Linked DNA regions of Homo sapiens: all the other regions are linked to region 1. The links are contacts of gene promoters, found by promoter capture Hi-C in blood cells and fetal thymus (Javierre and others, 2016). All regions are on one chromosome and are shown on one strand. The core of a region is centred on a gene start or on the middle of the fragment in contact, and the rest is flanking DNA. Distances in the headings are between cores, read along the strand shown.

Region 1 (3,443 bases), core at 575-3,074:
TTGGGAGGCTGAGATAGGAGAATTGCTTGAACCCGGGGAGGTGGAGATTGCAGTGAGCCAAGATCGCGCCATTGCACTCCAGCCTGGGCAACAAGAGCGAAACTCTTGTCTCAAAAAATAAAAAAATCAAACAAACACACATACAGGAAAGGAAAGGAGATAATAAAAAGGAAGGAGTAGTAACCACAGGGCATCCATGTTGGAGTATCCAGATCAGCTTCCTTTTCATTAGTCATAAATCCTTTTGGTGCTCTGTCCTGTTGGCTTTTCATGCACCTTCAAATCATGTATGGGGGTATGAGAAAGATAGTTTAAAAAGGAAAGGTTTGTTGTTCCACTGTTAGGGGTGAGGGAGGTACTTAGCGAAATGATGACTAGTAATAAGCTCTAGAACTGTGGGCTCTTTTATCCATGTCCATTGTTTCATATTCTTCTGGACCCACAAGATGGCACTTGAGGATCTACAACAGCAAAACCATACCAACGTATTTAGAATAAAAGAATCATCCACAGGGACAGATTAATGATGCATCTTTCTGGCCTAACAGTGTCTTTTTGATGGGCATAGAGATAAGGGGACTATGGCCACACCATCAGAATTGTATTATTCAATTAATAATGCCTACCACTTTGAAATGCTTCCTGTGCCCCAGGACACTGTGCTCATCACTTTACATCTCATTTCATCTATAAGACTCTATATAACGTCATTTCCACTTTACAGCTGAAGAAACTTAACTTTAAGTTACATAACCTGCTGACTGTGAACTATCACATGTGCTGAAGTTGGGATTCACCAAGCGGCCAAAAAGCACAGGTTCCCCTTACCATTGCTATGTTAACCAATAGACTGATGTATTTTAAATCAGTTTCTATTTTTTCAACCTCATAAGTTTGAAAAGCTGCACTCTGCACTGATTTAGCACTGACTGGTGGCTGCTTAAAGCTTGCCTTATTCCATTTTAGCAGGCCCCCCGGCAAAATACCCCAATTAGTGGTGTCATCCTCTCTATTCCAAGAATTTTCTCTTAAGACTCCCGCTCTGTGCGTTTGCTTGGGAATGCAGAGCCCTGTTCCTCATCTCCCCATCTATGCTTTCTTCATTCTAAGCCCTTTCCTATCTACTTTATGCTCGAGGTGGCTCCACCTCCACCATGAGCCAGAGCCAATGATGCTCACGGCCCCAACCATGATTAAAAAGAGATTGCCCTGCAAGGTAAATCAGTTAAAACCAACCTCTCCTGCCCTGAGTGGATAGGTAGGGTTAGGGTTGCCAGATGTCACGAAGTTACAGGATGCTCAGTTTTAAGGTATATCCCTTATACTATAAGGGTTATAGTAAAAAATATTCATTATGTGAAATTCAAATATAACTGGGTATCAGGTATTCTATGTGGCAACCCTAGGTAGGGGAGCACAGGTTAGGCAAGCGATTAGAAGATTTGCAGCCTCCAAAGTTTCTGCACCTCGATGGGACACTAGAACAGGAAGGCTCCTGGGCCTTTCTGGCTCTGGGAATGAAGCGTGGAAAACCCTCCTTAGGCGGGCGCAGTGCTTCAAGTAGCCAAGCTCTGACTTCCGAGGGAAGAAAGGAGGCCATGGGCCTCTGCCAGAGCCATGCTCTGCACTCTGGGGTCAGCAGAGTTCAAAACGACCTGCAACGTCTGGCGCTTAGCTCCTAAAGAGGTCTCCAGTCCAGCGCCGACGGCCAGCGGCTAGAGGCCGTCCGCCCGACTCCAAGATGGCGCCCGCCACAGCTGCCAGGTGTTAAGATGGCGGCGCGGGGCCGCGCCCGCGCTCCCAGGCTCTCCTCCCCCAGCCTTCCTCCGGCTGGCAGCACGACTCGCGTAGCCGTGCGCCGATTGCCTCTCGGCCTGGGCAATGGTCCCGGCTGCCGGTCGACGACCGCCCCGCGTCATGCGGCTCCTCGGCTGGTGGCAAGTATTGCTGTGGGTGCTGGGACTTCCCGTCCGCGGCGTGGAGGGTGAGTGTGGGCCGGGGGCGGTGCATGAGATGATGGGGCGAGCTGAGGTCCACCCGGGCGACGCTCTGGACCTGCGCGAAGGCCGGCGGTGCGCGACTCGCCCCTTCTTGGCGTCTCCCCGGGCGCGTCTCCCCGACTTCTCTCCCCGCGCACCGCCCGCTGGTGGCCCGCGAAAGGGGGCCGGTGGGCTGAGGGCCGGTGGACGGGAGCCCGGGGGTGGTTGGGCCGCGTTCAGGCCGCCCTCAGCCCGTGGCTGGTAGCCAGGAGGGACAGTGCGGTAAGCGCTGCTGAGGCATACCCTCTGGTGATAAGCAATTTATTATTAATAACATTATATCAAATACCGACATTGTTGTGGCCGTATTAGGAGCCAGGAACTGTGCATCGTGCTTTATTTACATCATTATCCCATTTAATGCTCCCACAAACCCTGTCAGATCGGTTCCGTTTAGTGTCTCCATTTCACAGATGAAGATGCTCAGGCCCCGCCTAAGTTTGCGCTTCTGATACGTGGCAGAAGCCTGTCTCTCTGACGCCAAAGCCCAGTCTGGAGTCCACGCTGCTGGACCACTGTCTTAAGGAGGCCAGTCTTGCTCAGCTCCCTGCATGAAAAACAGACGAGAAACACGGGAGACTCCCGGTAACCCCCAACTTGCCGGTAGGGAAGGCAGCCACTCTAGAGGCATGGCGAGGGTGGAGAGTGGAGGCCTTACTTTCATGCTCCTTCACCCCACTCCTCATAGTCCTGTTAAAGTCCAGACCCTCGGTCTCGCTTGTCATTTAGACCTTAACAGGAATAGGCAGGTCTTTCTTTTCCCTGGGGTGTCCTGGATGGAGGCAGGACAGCAGAGAGTTGTGGAGAAGGGTGAGTCATAGTAACACAATTACCATGAATGAAAGCGCTCACTGTGTACCAGATGCTGTGCTCAGTGCTTTACGAGCATCATCTTTTGGAATCTTTACTGTTTTGTTTTTGTTTTTTTAAGGGATGAGGGCTTGCTCTGTTGCCCAGGCGGGAGTGCAGTGGCCCATCATGGCTCCCTGCAGCCTTGAACTCCTGGGCTTAAGTGATCCTCCCACCTGTTTCCCAAAGTGCTGGGATTACAGATGTGAGCCACTGCTCCCGGTTTATGTAATTTTTATTTTTATTTTTTTTTGAGATGGAGTCTCGCTCTGTTGCCCAGGCTGGAGTGCAGTGGCGCGATCTTGGCTCACTGCAACCTCTGACTCCCGGGTTCAAGCGATTCTCGTGCCTCAGCCTCCTGAGTAGCTGGGATTACAGGTGCCTGCCACCACACTGGGCTAATTTTTGTATTTTTAGTAGAGATGATGGTCCACCATGTTGGCCACGCTGGTCTGGAACTCCTGACCTCAGGTGATCCACCCACCTCGGCCTCCCAGAGTGCTGGGATTACAGGCTTGAGCCACCGTGCCTGGCCTTAGTAATTTTTAAATGCAT
Region 2 (3,443 bases), core at 618-3,117, 500 kb before region 1:
CTGGGACTATTGGTGTGCGCCACCATGCCTGGCTAATTTTACTTTTTGTAGAGACAGGATCTCCTATGTTGCCCAGGCTGGTCTTCAACTCCTGGCCTCCCAAAGTATTAGGATTACAGGCATGAGCTAATGCCCCAGCTCATGAGGGATATTTTTAAGATATAGTTTCTCTTTACCATTTTTCTCCATGTAACCCTACCTGTGTGTCTTCCTCCTTTGCTATTGGAAGGGTTAGGACTGCAATGGCAGAAAGGCAAAAAAATTAAGAATATTCAGCTTTTAACTTAAAAAACACATTGCGAATGTCTAACAGGACCTATCAAGAGTTAGGCCTGGCTAACCTGATCACCAAGGCAGTCACTGGAAGCAGAGAGGGAATTCAGGGTTTGAAGAAAGAGGTACAAGGAAAGTCAGAAAAGTTAACTCTGCTTCCATGGAATCAGGGGCAAGGCTGAGGCAATGTTAAGGTCCTCATTCCACCCTCCCTTTACCTGTTGAACTGAACAGTTCCCCAAATGGATACAAAAGTACTCAGAGTCCTTAGTATAACAAAGTCCTGAAGGTAGGAATTGGAAGCAATAGAGGGAAGGACGGTGACCACAGAAAATATTCAAGGTCTTTGGGAGGTCAACACCTCTGAACCCCCTGGTGGTGGGGGGCCCTTCTGGCCCATTTGCACCTTTCTTGCTAGTGTAGAAAACCTGAAGTTATCTCAGGCTAGATATATAACCCTCACTCATGTCTGCCGGAGCTCTCCCCCAGAATATGAATCATATTTGTAGGTTTCTTTGACAACCAACCACTCATTGATATGCTTGGAAGACTGCACCCCCACATTCCTTAAAAATACAATGGTACTCCCCCACCATAGGCAAGTCCCCGGACTCTGACACATATCTTCAATTGAAAGCAGACCCAGAAAGGAAAAACTGCATAATACACCATCCTTTAATATTTGCCCAGAATTTCCAATACTAGAAACCCCACTGCAAAGCAGAAAGACTATCTGGTAGCTTCAAGGAACCATTTCAGGAGATTGTTGTGTGGGCCTCAGTATTCAAGGCTGCCTTAGAAGATCGTGCGATCCTCTCACTCTTCTTGCCCCAAGTACCAGAGTTAATAAGCCACTGAACCAACCAGAGGGGAATTATTTTTGGTCCCGGTTTAAAGAAAACAAAACAAGCTGTTGATTCTGCCATGACCTCTTGGGTAATGTTGTCTCTATACCTGTGATAAACAGAAAACAACTAATAAAGGTTTATCCCGCCCTCACCCTCTTAAACCCGCTTCACAGACCTGGCTGAAACTCACATCCAGGCGAGGCGCTCACGTGACCCGTTCTAAACGCGTCATAGGGACACGTGGTTCTAGATACTTCTCCCCCTCCCACTCAGGGGTGGATTGTTGACAAGGCCGCGGGCAGTCACGTGATCTTACATCATCCCACCTCCTTTCCCTGAAATCTCTGGCCCGGATGCGTCCCTCTTTCTCCACCCCGCCGAGCCTAAACTAGTGACGGGGAGGGAGACGGGATAGTGTTTCTGTTTCGTGGTCTTTGAATCCACAACCTCTAGTCTGAACACAGAGAACACAAATTTGTCTATTACTTCAGGAAGCCCAGGGGGAACCGCGCCCCGCTGAAGGGCTCGGGGAAGGCGCGCTCCCGCGTCCCGCCCCCTCCTCCCCCAGCACTCACACTGTGGTAGCGGCGGAGGGCGGAGGGATCCGGAGGCGGCGGAGGGAGACGTCATTGCAGGGTTGTTTGTCAGTCTCGGCGGCGGCGGCGGCGGCGGCGGCGGCGGCGATCCACAGTGATTCGGCCGCCGCGCCGGGGGGTGGGGGGGCTGCGCGGGACTTTTTTTTTTTCAGACTGACCGCGGGGCAGCTGCGGAGCATGTCGACCCCGGCCCGGAGGAGGCTCATGCGGGATTTCAAGCGGTAAGGGCCTTCACCTTCGCCTAGATGACGGCCCCTCAAAGCTGCGGGGCTGCAGGGCGTGGATCCCAGACACCTTCCCCTTTGTGACCCTCAGAGGGCCGGCTGTGGGCCCAGCGGGACTGGCGGAAGCCGGGTCCTAGCCTCGGCCCTACTCCCATAAGCTTTGCCGCTCGTTCTGGCGCCCGAAGAAATTTTGATACTGCTTCCCCTCCCCACAAAAAGTAAAACGGTGTCGATCGACTGGTCTAGGGTTCCCTGCTGCCCATTTCGGCCAGCTGCCCGGCGTCTCGCCCAGGCGATCAGACATTATCCGCCCGCCCCTGCACCCTGCGGCGCCCCCTTCTTGTCCCCTCAAAGTGAGCTCCTGCGGGAGCTTGTTCCTCTCCGGCAGCACCAGTCAGCTTTGTTTCACGGCCCCGCCGTCTTCTCCGAGGAGCCGTGTTGGGGCGAACCCCTCTCCCGACTCCTGCCAATCCTTTCCATTTGTGCCCTGAGGGTGGGGTCCAGTGCGTGAGGCCCGGAGGTTAACCCATCCCCCGAAACCCGACTCTGTCCCCGCCCGCCTGAAAGGACCTTGGGAACTGACTTAGAGATCTGGGACCTTAGAGCTGGCCACCCCGGCTGCCAGTGCTTTCTGGAACTCAGCTCTGGCTGGTGAAGAAAGCCCCTATCTATAGCCTCCCGAGTCTGGAAAAATGCCTTCCCTTAGACTGGCGCTAATCTGATACTCCCTGGGCCTCCTTTGGTAAATAAAATAGGGTTTTGTTAGGAGGTATTGGGGTTGTGAGATAGAAAATGATTATTCCGTTGTTTACCTTTTATTGGATACTTAGAGACATAGAAAAAATAAGTGAGAAAACATCATTTTGATACTCTGCACATTTTTCTTAACATTTTTTCTGGGGACACCTGCCCTAATTGAACAAAATATCTAGCATAAAAACTTAGATTTGTCGCTCAGGAAGTCACCTCTCAGCTATTATAAAGCCTATGTGAGGCACTTGGATTTGGCCAACTTATTTAATTCATTCGTAGCTTCTCTTAGCCATTTAAAGGTAGGCGTCAAGCAGTGCAGTTCTTCTAAGGCTTCTGTTCGTGGTGGCCTAATTTGCTTGAGATTGACTAAAAACCATTTTTTTAATGTGGACTAGTTGCAAATTATGATGCCCCATGAAAAACAACTGCATATGTATTTGTGTGTGTATATAATGTAGCATTTTTAATTGAGGTTACAGTCTCTGAAAGGAGATGCCCTTTTTGGTGCAAAAGTCATCTTTCTAAAGCTTGAAATCAGCGTATTTGATTAGCACTCATGACAAATTCAGATAGTAAACTAGTTCATGTCATTGTCGCCCTGGCTCCTTACTGTAATGCTCTGCTTAATTCTGAGTTGAATGCATGGCACCTTTTGTAGTTTCCAGAGATCTGCAGGTTACAAGAATTTGACTATGACGAATGTTGGAAAGCCTTGTGTTGAGTCTCCTGATCTGAGAGGTGGATTTGGT
Region 3 (3,443 bases), core at 346-2,845, 470 kb before region 1:
GTAATCCCAGCTTCTTGGGACGCTGAGGCAAGGGATCGCTTAAACTCGCGAGGCAGAGGTTGCAGTGAGCTGAACCATTGCACTCCAGCCTGGGCAACAAGAGCAAAACTCCATCTCAAAAAAAAAAAAAAAGGAAAATCAGAAAACCTCTTAGAAACAAAAAGGAAAGAATCTATCACAAGCAGTTAAAAAATAAAGGCTCGGCCAGGTGCAGTGGCTCACGCCTGTAATCCTAGCACTTTGGGAAGCTGGGCAGATCACTTGAGGCCAGGAGTTCAAGACCAGCCTGGACAACATGGCAAAACCCTTTCTCTACTAAAAATACAAAAATTAGCTGGGTATGGTGGCACCCGGCTGTAATCCCAGCTACTGGGGAGGCTGTGGCGCTAGAATCACTTGAGCCTGGGAGGCAGAGGTTGCAGTGAGCTGAGATCGTGCCACTGCACTCCAGCCTGGGTGACAAAGTGAGCCTCTATCTAAAAAATAAATTAAAAATAAAGGCTCACCTCATTCCCTGCCTACCTCTGCCCCTGCCCCTGCCCCATAAGGTATACTCCAGTAGCCAGAAACTATCTAGCTCCTCCCTGGCTGGGCCCCAAGAACCTTACTATAGAACACCCAAGGACTGCCCAGTATTTTTTTAAGTATTACATGAGAAGATCCAAAAAGCCACACACTCCCAATTCACACTGCTCCCTGGCTAAAAACAGTAGCCCCTTTTTAACAGCTGATTTTAGTCCTGGTGCGGTGGCTCACACCTGTAATCCCAGCACTTTGGGAGGCCGAGGCGGGCGGATCACGAGGTCAGGAGATCGAGACCATCCTGGCTAACACGGTGAAACCCCGTCTCTACTAAAAATACAAAAAAAAAAAAAAAAAAAAAATTGGCTGGGCGTGGTGGCAGGCGCCTGTAGTCCCAGCTACTCAGGAGGCTGAGGCAGGAGAATGGTGTGAACCTGGGAGGCAGAGCTTGCAGTGAGCCCAGATCGCACCACCTCACTCCAGCCTGGGCGACACAGGGAGACTCCCTCTCAAAAACAAACAAACAAACAAACAAAAACAAAAAAACAGCTGATTTTACTTACTGATTTTTTGTCAGGAGTACTGTGTTGAGGTAACAGCTGATTTTAAAACATAATAGCATCTCGAAAACCAACCTGAAGCTTTTCCCCAGGTTCAGATTAAAACTAAAAGAATACTTTTTTAAGAAAAACAAACCATCCTGAAAATCAAGTGGGGTGTACTATTTGGGACTGAAATACTTTATGAGCAACTGAGAATCTGATTAGTTCCTTGACACCCATATGGAAGAGGACCTCTATATGTGCCCCACCTCCCAAGACAAGACCTAAATGTGGAGGAATGGGCTTACCTATGTTTCTAAGGGCAGACCTAAAAAGGGGCCAGCAGCTTTTTACTCTACTGCTTCAGTCGATTTTATAAGTATTTTCTGAGTACCTTCTCTGGGGTATAAGTATACTAGGTTTGGGAGTTGTAAAGACTAAATAGAACTTTAGACACCATCTGTAAGGTCACAACTGCTTTAAAAGAGCCCTGGATAAAGTGCCAAAGGAACTTCAGAAGATAAGCGAGCAATTAATTCTGCTGCCTGAGCAGACAAATGTGAAACAAGCATGTTTTGGAGGTGATTCTGAAAAGTATTAATAGCTGGGATGCCCAGCTCCATATTCTGAGGTTCTTTCTGCCACATTCTGTAGCCCCAGCTCCAGTGTCCAGATTCAAGACTCTAGGCAAGACTCACTGTAAAAAGCCCATCGCCTGAGATCAGACCCCAAAGGGTAGAGAACAGCTATGCCATCGACATTGCTCCAGGCACGTTCTTATCAGCAAATCACAGAAGCCAAACAAGTCAGGTCGGCACTCACACCGGCACTCACACCTGGGGTAAGGATGAGTCTTACCAATGAGATTTTTTAACAAGTAGGAAACTTAAGTATTCTAGCCAACATCTTTTTAAACATCAAGCAAAAATCTCAAAACAATGTTCCTAAACAACCGGAAGAGGTTAAGCTTATGTGTTACCTCATCAACAATGCATAATTTACCACAGTGAGTTGTCAACTATTTATGAAAAGGCTTATACCAATTATGGGGAAATAAAAATGAAAGGGTATAGGTCTTTGGGGCAGTAAAGAGCATTCAAAAACAATATACTCTAATATAGTGTCATCAAGGCAGGGACTGTTAACTCTACACCATTTCATCACATGCACTTGGAAATCCTATTTACCTTTTTCATTAATTCACTTCTGGTAGTAAATTGTGGCAGGTCTTCCACTTCAATCCCATCGGCCATTTCCATCACCTTGTCTAAAAGGTCTTTATTGTAACTGCACAATAAAAAGTAGTAAGGTAAAAACCTTGGAACAATTGTCACTGTGGATTAATAAGAAACTGCAGGTTGCTCAACTATAAAATCAGCTCTCAGAGAACTGACCTGATACTGCAGGGCAAACCTATACATGTTCCCCACAAGGTTTTGAGATGGAGTCTTGCTCTGTCCCCCAGGTTGGAGTGCAGTGGTGTGATCTCGGCTCACTGCAACCTCCACCTCCCAGGTTCAAGCAATTCTCCTGCCTCAGCCTCCCGAGTAGCTGGGATTACAGGCGTGTGCCACCACGCCTGGCTAATTTTTTATTTTTAGTAGAGACAGGGTTTCACCATGTTGGCCAGGCTGGTCTCCAACTCCTGACCTCAAGTGATCCTCCTCCCAAAGTGCTAGGATTACTGGCGTGAGACACCGTGCCTGGCCCTGTGAACACTTCTTGCTTGTAGATACAGAAGTGGACTTCAGAAATACCAGTACAGCAGATGTTTCAAGATTTAGAAGAACAGAGGCACTGTACATCCAGCAACAGATATTCTCAGATACAGGATGAGGACCAAAATATTTTTATTTTTTAAATACATGGAATGTTAGTCTAACAAAAACATTATTTATTTCCCCAATTCTCTGACATTTGCCTAACCATGGAAAACCAGGATTTCCCAGGAGCACCTAGAAGGCAGGGAAAAGGGACGGGTGCCTCTGGCATTGCTTCCCTACGTACTGTTCTAATAAACCCCAATATGTGAAGCAAAACCAAGTGGCTTAGGCCTGCAGGGGCCAAATGACCAGAGTCAGGCAGCCATAATAGGTATAGAAACCAAGATCAAACCAAGTCACCCTATTTTCCTAACACAATTTCAGGAAAATCGAAGCTCTCTAATAGGGAGTCTCAAGATTTGCCACCTTCCTCATGGAGGGGTGAAAGGAATGCCTTATCAGGCACTTCAAAAGCGGGCCTTTGTCCTTTTGGTGCTGCAGCCAGGATGAAGTGGGCTTTGAGACCTTCACAAAAAGGCATCGGCCATTTTCATAAGAGGGAAAGCAGAGAGGTGAAGCTGGTTCCTACTTAGGACCCCGTGGGCTGTGGAGTGAG
Region 4 (3,443 bases), core at 518-3,017, 340 kb after region 1:
AAATCCCACTGGGGGTGCTGTTGGCAGGCCCAGCACACCAGGAAGGCAGCATTGGCCCTTTATGGAAGTTATCAGGAAGATGAATAAGGCTTGAAACGCGAGCCCCTGGCAGGCTGACTCAGACCCCACAGAATGGCTGGCCCTGGCCTTTGAAGAGCTGAGAGCTGTTTACATCCTACTAATGGACCTCGCTGGCTGCAAGCAGTCAATGTGGCTATATAAATACTCCAGCCTGGGGCCATGGAGTGAGTGAGGACATGAATGCGAGGAGAAACCCCCTCCTCAGCCTCATCTCCTCCTCAGTGAGGGATCCCTGGGCAGGAGAAGCCATGGGGACAGGAGGACTCTAATTTAGCAGGAAGCCCCACACGGCAGGCCTGTGCGTGGTAACAGAATGGTGTCTAGTTGATGATGTGGTATGTAGACGTTTCTCCCCACGTGAAGTTCTTTGCATAAATAAATGGTGACCAGCTGTTAGTCTTCCTATTAGCATGAACATCCATCACAGCTTGTTTCAAATCTAAGTCTGGGAGGGAGAAGCTTAGACTCCCATGAAAGGCAAATGTTACAATGGTAATCCAGCCCAGTCTGGCACACATCTGCTTAGAGAAACTCGCAAACTGGAAATGTTGGCTGGGATCTATATGGGGGGTTGGGCATGGGGTCTGATGTTCTCTGTAAGTGTCCCCACCCAGGGAGCTGCATTTTTGTCAGCAGGGAAGACGTGATGAGATCAGGCTCCCATTGGGGCCTGTCAACATGGTGCCGATGGCTGCTGTACTCTCCAGGGTGCCCTTCCCTATCTCCCACCAGTGACCCTGGCCCACAGCAGACCTTGAGAAGGTACAGGTAGGCTGGGAAGGGAAAGGTCTCCTCCCTTAGGGCTCAGACCCTGGCCTGCATGTTGTGGTCATGGACCACAGGCTGTTTGAGATGCCCTCTTCAGGGGTAGCTAGTGATAGGGCAGAATGTCACCATCGGTCCTATGGTGAGTTTTCTGGTGCCATTCTCTGTCTGTCCCACCAGTCTCTGAGAGGGAGGCAGGAGCCTGCCCTGCCTGCCCCATCCACACCTCCCCAACCAGGGAACCCCATCACTCCCTCTATTCATTGTGGATGATGGTAATTATTTTTAATATCTCTCCCTGGGAACTCAGTCATTCACCCACCCATTCTACAAACATTTATTTTGTACCTGTAGCGTACCAGGTACTAGGAATACATGGGTGAGCAGGACAGACATGGTGCCCATTTTACTGGAGCTGTTTCATTAGAGTGGGAAGGATAGTCAGATAAAGCACAAAGAGACTAAAAGACAATGGCAAGTTGTGAAGAGTGCTATTAAACAAATGGGATAGAGGGACCTAGTCTGGATACAGTGGCTTCTCTTGGGAGGTAACTCTTGAGCTGAGGCGTAAAGACTGGGATGGAACCCAGTAAGTGAGGAGCAGTGCAGATGAGGGACTAGCATGCTGCAGAGGCTCTGGGGTAGGGGCAGAGCTTGGTTTCCTTGTGGAATTAAAAACCATCAGTGTGGCTAGAGTGTGGTGAGTGAGGGCCAGCTAAGAGCAGCTCCTGGTGGAATTGCAGGCCGTGTGCCAGTCTTGTGGTTGTAGGAGCTTTGCAGGGGCCGATAAGGCCAGCAGGGTTTTATGGAGTTTGGGGGTGGGTGTACCGTGAGTGAATCGCTTTATGTGCATTGGTATAAAAGCATTTTTTGGGGGCCTAGTGCTTGCCAGACAGGGTGTTGAGGCAGATTAAATTTAGCTTGAATTTCCTCTTGAAAGCAAAGAGCCCACAGAGGTCTTTAATTTGGGATGACATGATGAGGCATGGAGGCAGAGCAGCAGTGGTCCTGGTTTCTGTGAGTTCTCTGCAAAATGGTTTCCCAGATACCGACACACTCTTCTCTCTCCCTGTCAGCCTGGGGCTCCGGCTTATATGAGTGCTTGCTGCGGATGTGACCAGTGGTCTGCACACAGTAGGTGCACAGTGCACTGGGACTCCGTGCAGTGCGAGCTAAGGAGACCCTGTCCTTGGGAGGAGGCCTCAGCCCAAATTGCAGATGGGGAAGGGGAAAACAGCACTTCCTCAAGCTATAGAGCATTTGGGTGCTTACTGCTTCCCCTGTCTGCACATGGAGAAACTGAGACCTGGAGAGAAAGTCACAAAGTTCATGACTAGCTGATAATTGTGTTTTCCATTTTGTGTTAGAAAAGTACTAAAGAAATCGATAGCTCAAATAGCTACTGTTAGTGCTGTTAAGATGCCTGGGCATTCCTAAGAGTACCCAGCAGCTGTGTCCTGGAGAACCCTCTGTGTATCCAGTGCCCTTTATTCCTAAGAAATGAAGTCATCTCTGGCCTGAGAGGCTCTGCATCCTTATATTTTAGGAAGGATGATTTCTATTCTTAGTCTTCTCGCTTTCCCTGCAGAGTGATAGAGTGTTTACAACTATTACCCACACTCGCCTCTGTTTAGCCCTGTAAAGAACATCCTCAGCACTTACTCCGCATTAGGATTTGAGCTTTAAATGGAAGACAGCAGGGTGTGGTGGGAAGGCTGTGGCCCCAGCAGTCACATTGCCTGGGTTCTAGCTGTTTGAATTTGGAGAAGTGACTTGACTTTTCTGAGCCTCCTGTCTCCAGGGAGACAGGAGGGGCAGATGGCGATTCTTGCAGTTGTGACTGTAGCTTGCGTGGCAGATGCCAGTTCTTAATCACCTTCCACACACAGCTTAGTGGTTCTCCAACCTACAGTGTACGTGAGAATCACCCAGAGGGCTTGTGAAGCAGGGATTGCTGAGACCCGCCCCGAGAGGTTCTGATTGAGTAGGTCTAAGGTGAAAAGTTTGCATTTTTACCAAGTTCCCAGGTGATGCTGATGCTGCTGGTCCTGAACTACAACTTTGTGCAGGGCTGCACACACTCACTGAATTCATCTCTGCAGCCCCTTAGTGTTGTATTGTTATTTTCCCTTTGTGGAGGAGGAAATGAAAGCTTAGAGAATTAGGTAACTTGCCCAGGGTCGCACAGCTGCTAGGTGGTGAAGCTGGAATCCCAGTCCAGGTCTGTGCTGTCCAAAGCCATTGCCTTCACCTCTAGCTCTACCATGGTGCTACCTGGCGGGATGAGGTGCTCAGTGAAGGCTGGCTGCAGTTCCTTTGCCTCTCTAGACCAACAACAGGCTTGGGCCTTGATCCAAGATTACAGTTGACACCAAATGGTTTTCATTATTGTTTTGTGATAAGGCAGACCAAATAATACTCAGAAAACTTAGATGAGAAAATCCAGGGTTGAAAGGATGGTAATTGGAGAGATGCCGATTCACTAGTCATAGGCCCTCAAAGCTAGAGGTGGTGGCTTCCTCCAGCCTCCACGCAGTGTCCTGCGATGTCCACAGTGCGAGGGGTCTTCCGGCTGGAAGGCTTCCAGTGGTGGGTAG

What was found. The method cuts DNA at HindIII sites, captures the fragments that hold promoters and counts their contacts. A CHiCAGO score of 5 or more calls a contact.
Region 2: the fragment with the promoter of UBE2B here is called in contact with the fragment with the promoter of TXNDC15 in region 1 in 11 of 17 cell types (fetal thymus, non-activated CD4 T cells, naive B cells and 8 more); the score reaches 12.1 in fetal thymus.
Region 3: a fragment that was not itself captured here is called in contact with the fragment with the promoter of TXNDC15 in region 1 in 1 of 17 cell types (fetal thymus); the score reaches 5.8 in fetal thymus.
Region 4: a contact is called between a fragment that was not itself captured here and the fragment with the promoter of TXNDC15 in region 1, in 1 of 17 cell types (M2 macrophages). The highest score is 5.3, in M2 macrophages.

Annotation. Positions count from the first base shown.
Region 1 is chr5:134,872,547-134,875,989 of GRCh38, forward strand. TXNDC15 (thioredoxin domain containing 15) reads left to right here and starts at 1,825. Exons shown (of 5, transcript NM_024715.4): 1 at 1,825-1,984. The coding sequence starts at 1,882. It overlaps LOC124901071 (a long non-coding RNA gene), which reads right to left and starts at 2,852. Exons shown (of 2, transcript XR_007058943.1): 1 at 2,698-2,852; 2 at 2,285-2,586. RefSeq lists enhancers at 1,501-1,550, 1,571-1,860, 1,792-2,497, 2,391-2,460 and a silencer at 2,101-2,210. The HindIII fragment of the contact is 3,704 bases long and covers 945-3,443 here.
Region 2 is chr5:134,369,702-134,373,144 of GRCh38, forward strand. UBE2B (ubiquitin conjugating enzyme E2 B) reads left to right here and starts at 1,868. Exons shown (of 6, transcript NM_003337.4): 1 at 1,868-1,938. The coding sequence starts at 1,895. It also overlaps a transcript of CDKL3 not described here. RefSeq lists enhancers at 987-1,582, 1,091-1,160, 2,101-2,200 and a silencer at 1,631-1,680. The HindIII fragment of the contact is 3,578 bases long and covers 1-2,097 here.
Region 3 is chr5:134,407,652-134,411,094 of GRCh38, forward strand. It overlaps CDKN2AIPNL (CDKN2A interacting protein N-terminal like), which reads right to left. Exons shown (of 3, transcript NM_080656.3): 2 at 2,252-2,351. Among named protein-coding and RNA genes, the nearest start is that of CDKN2AIPNL, 2.5 kb to the right of the region's middle. The HindIII fragment of the contact is 868 bases long and covers 1,162-2,029 here.
Region 4 is chr5:135,208,912-135,212,354 of GRCh38, forward strand. The region is part of intron 3 of PITX1-AS1 (PITX1 antisense RNA 1); the gene reads left to right. Among named protein-coding and RNA genes, the nearest start is that of LINC02900, 38 kb to the right of the region's middle. The HindIII fragment of the contact is 2,458 bases long and covers 539-2,996 here.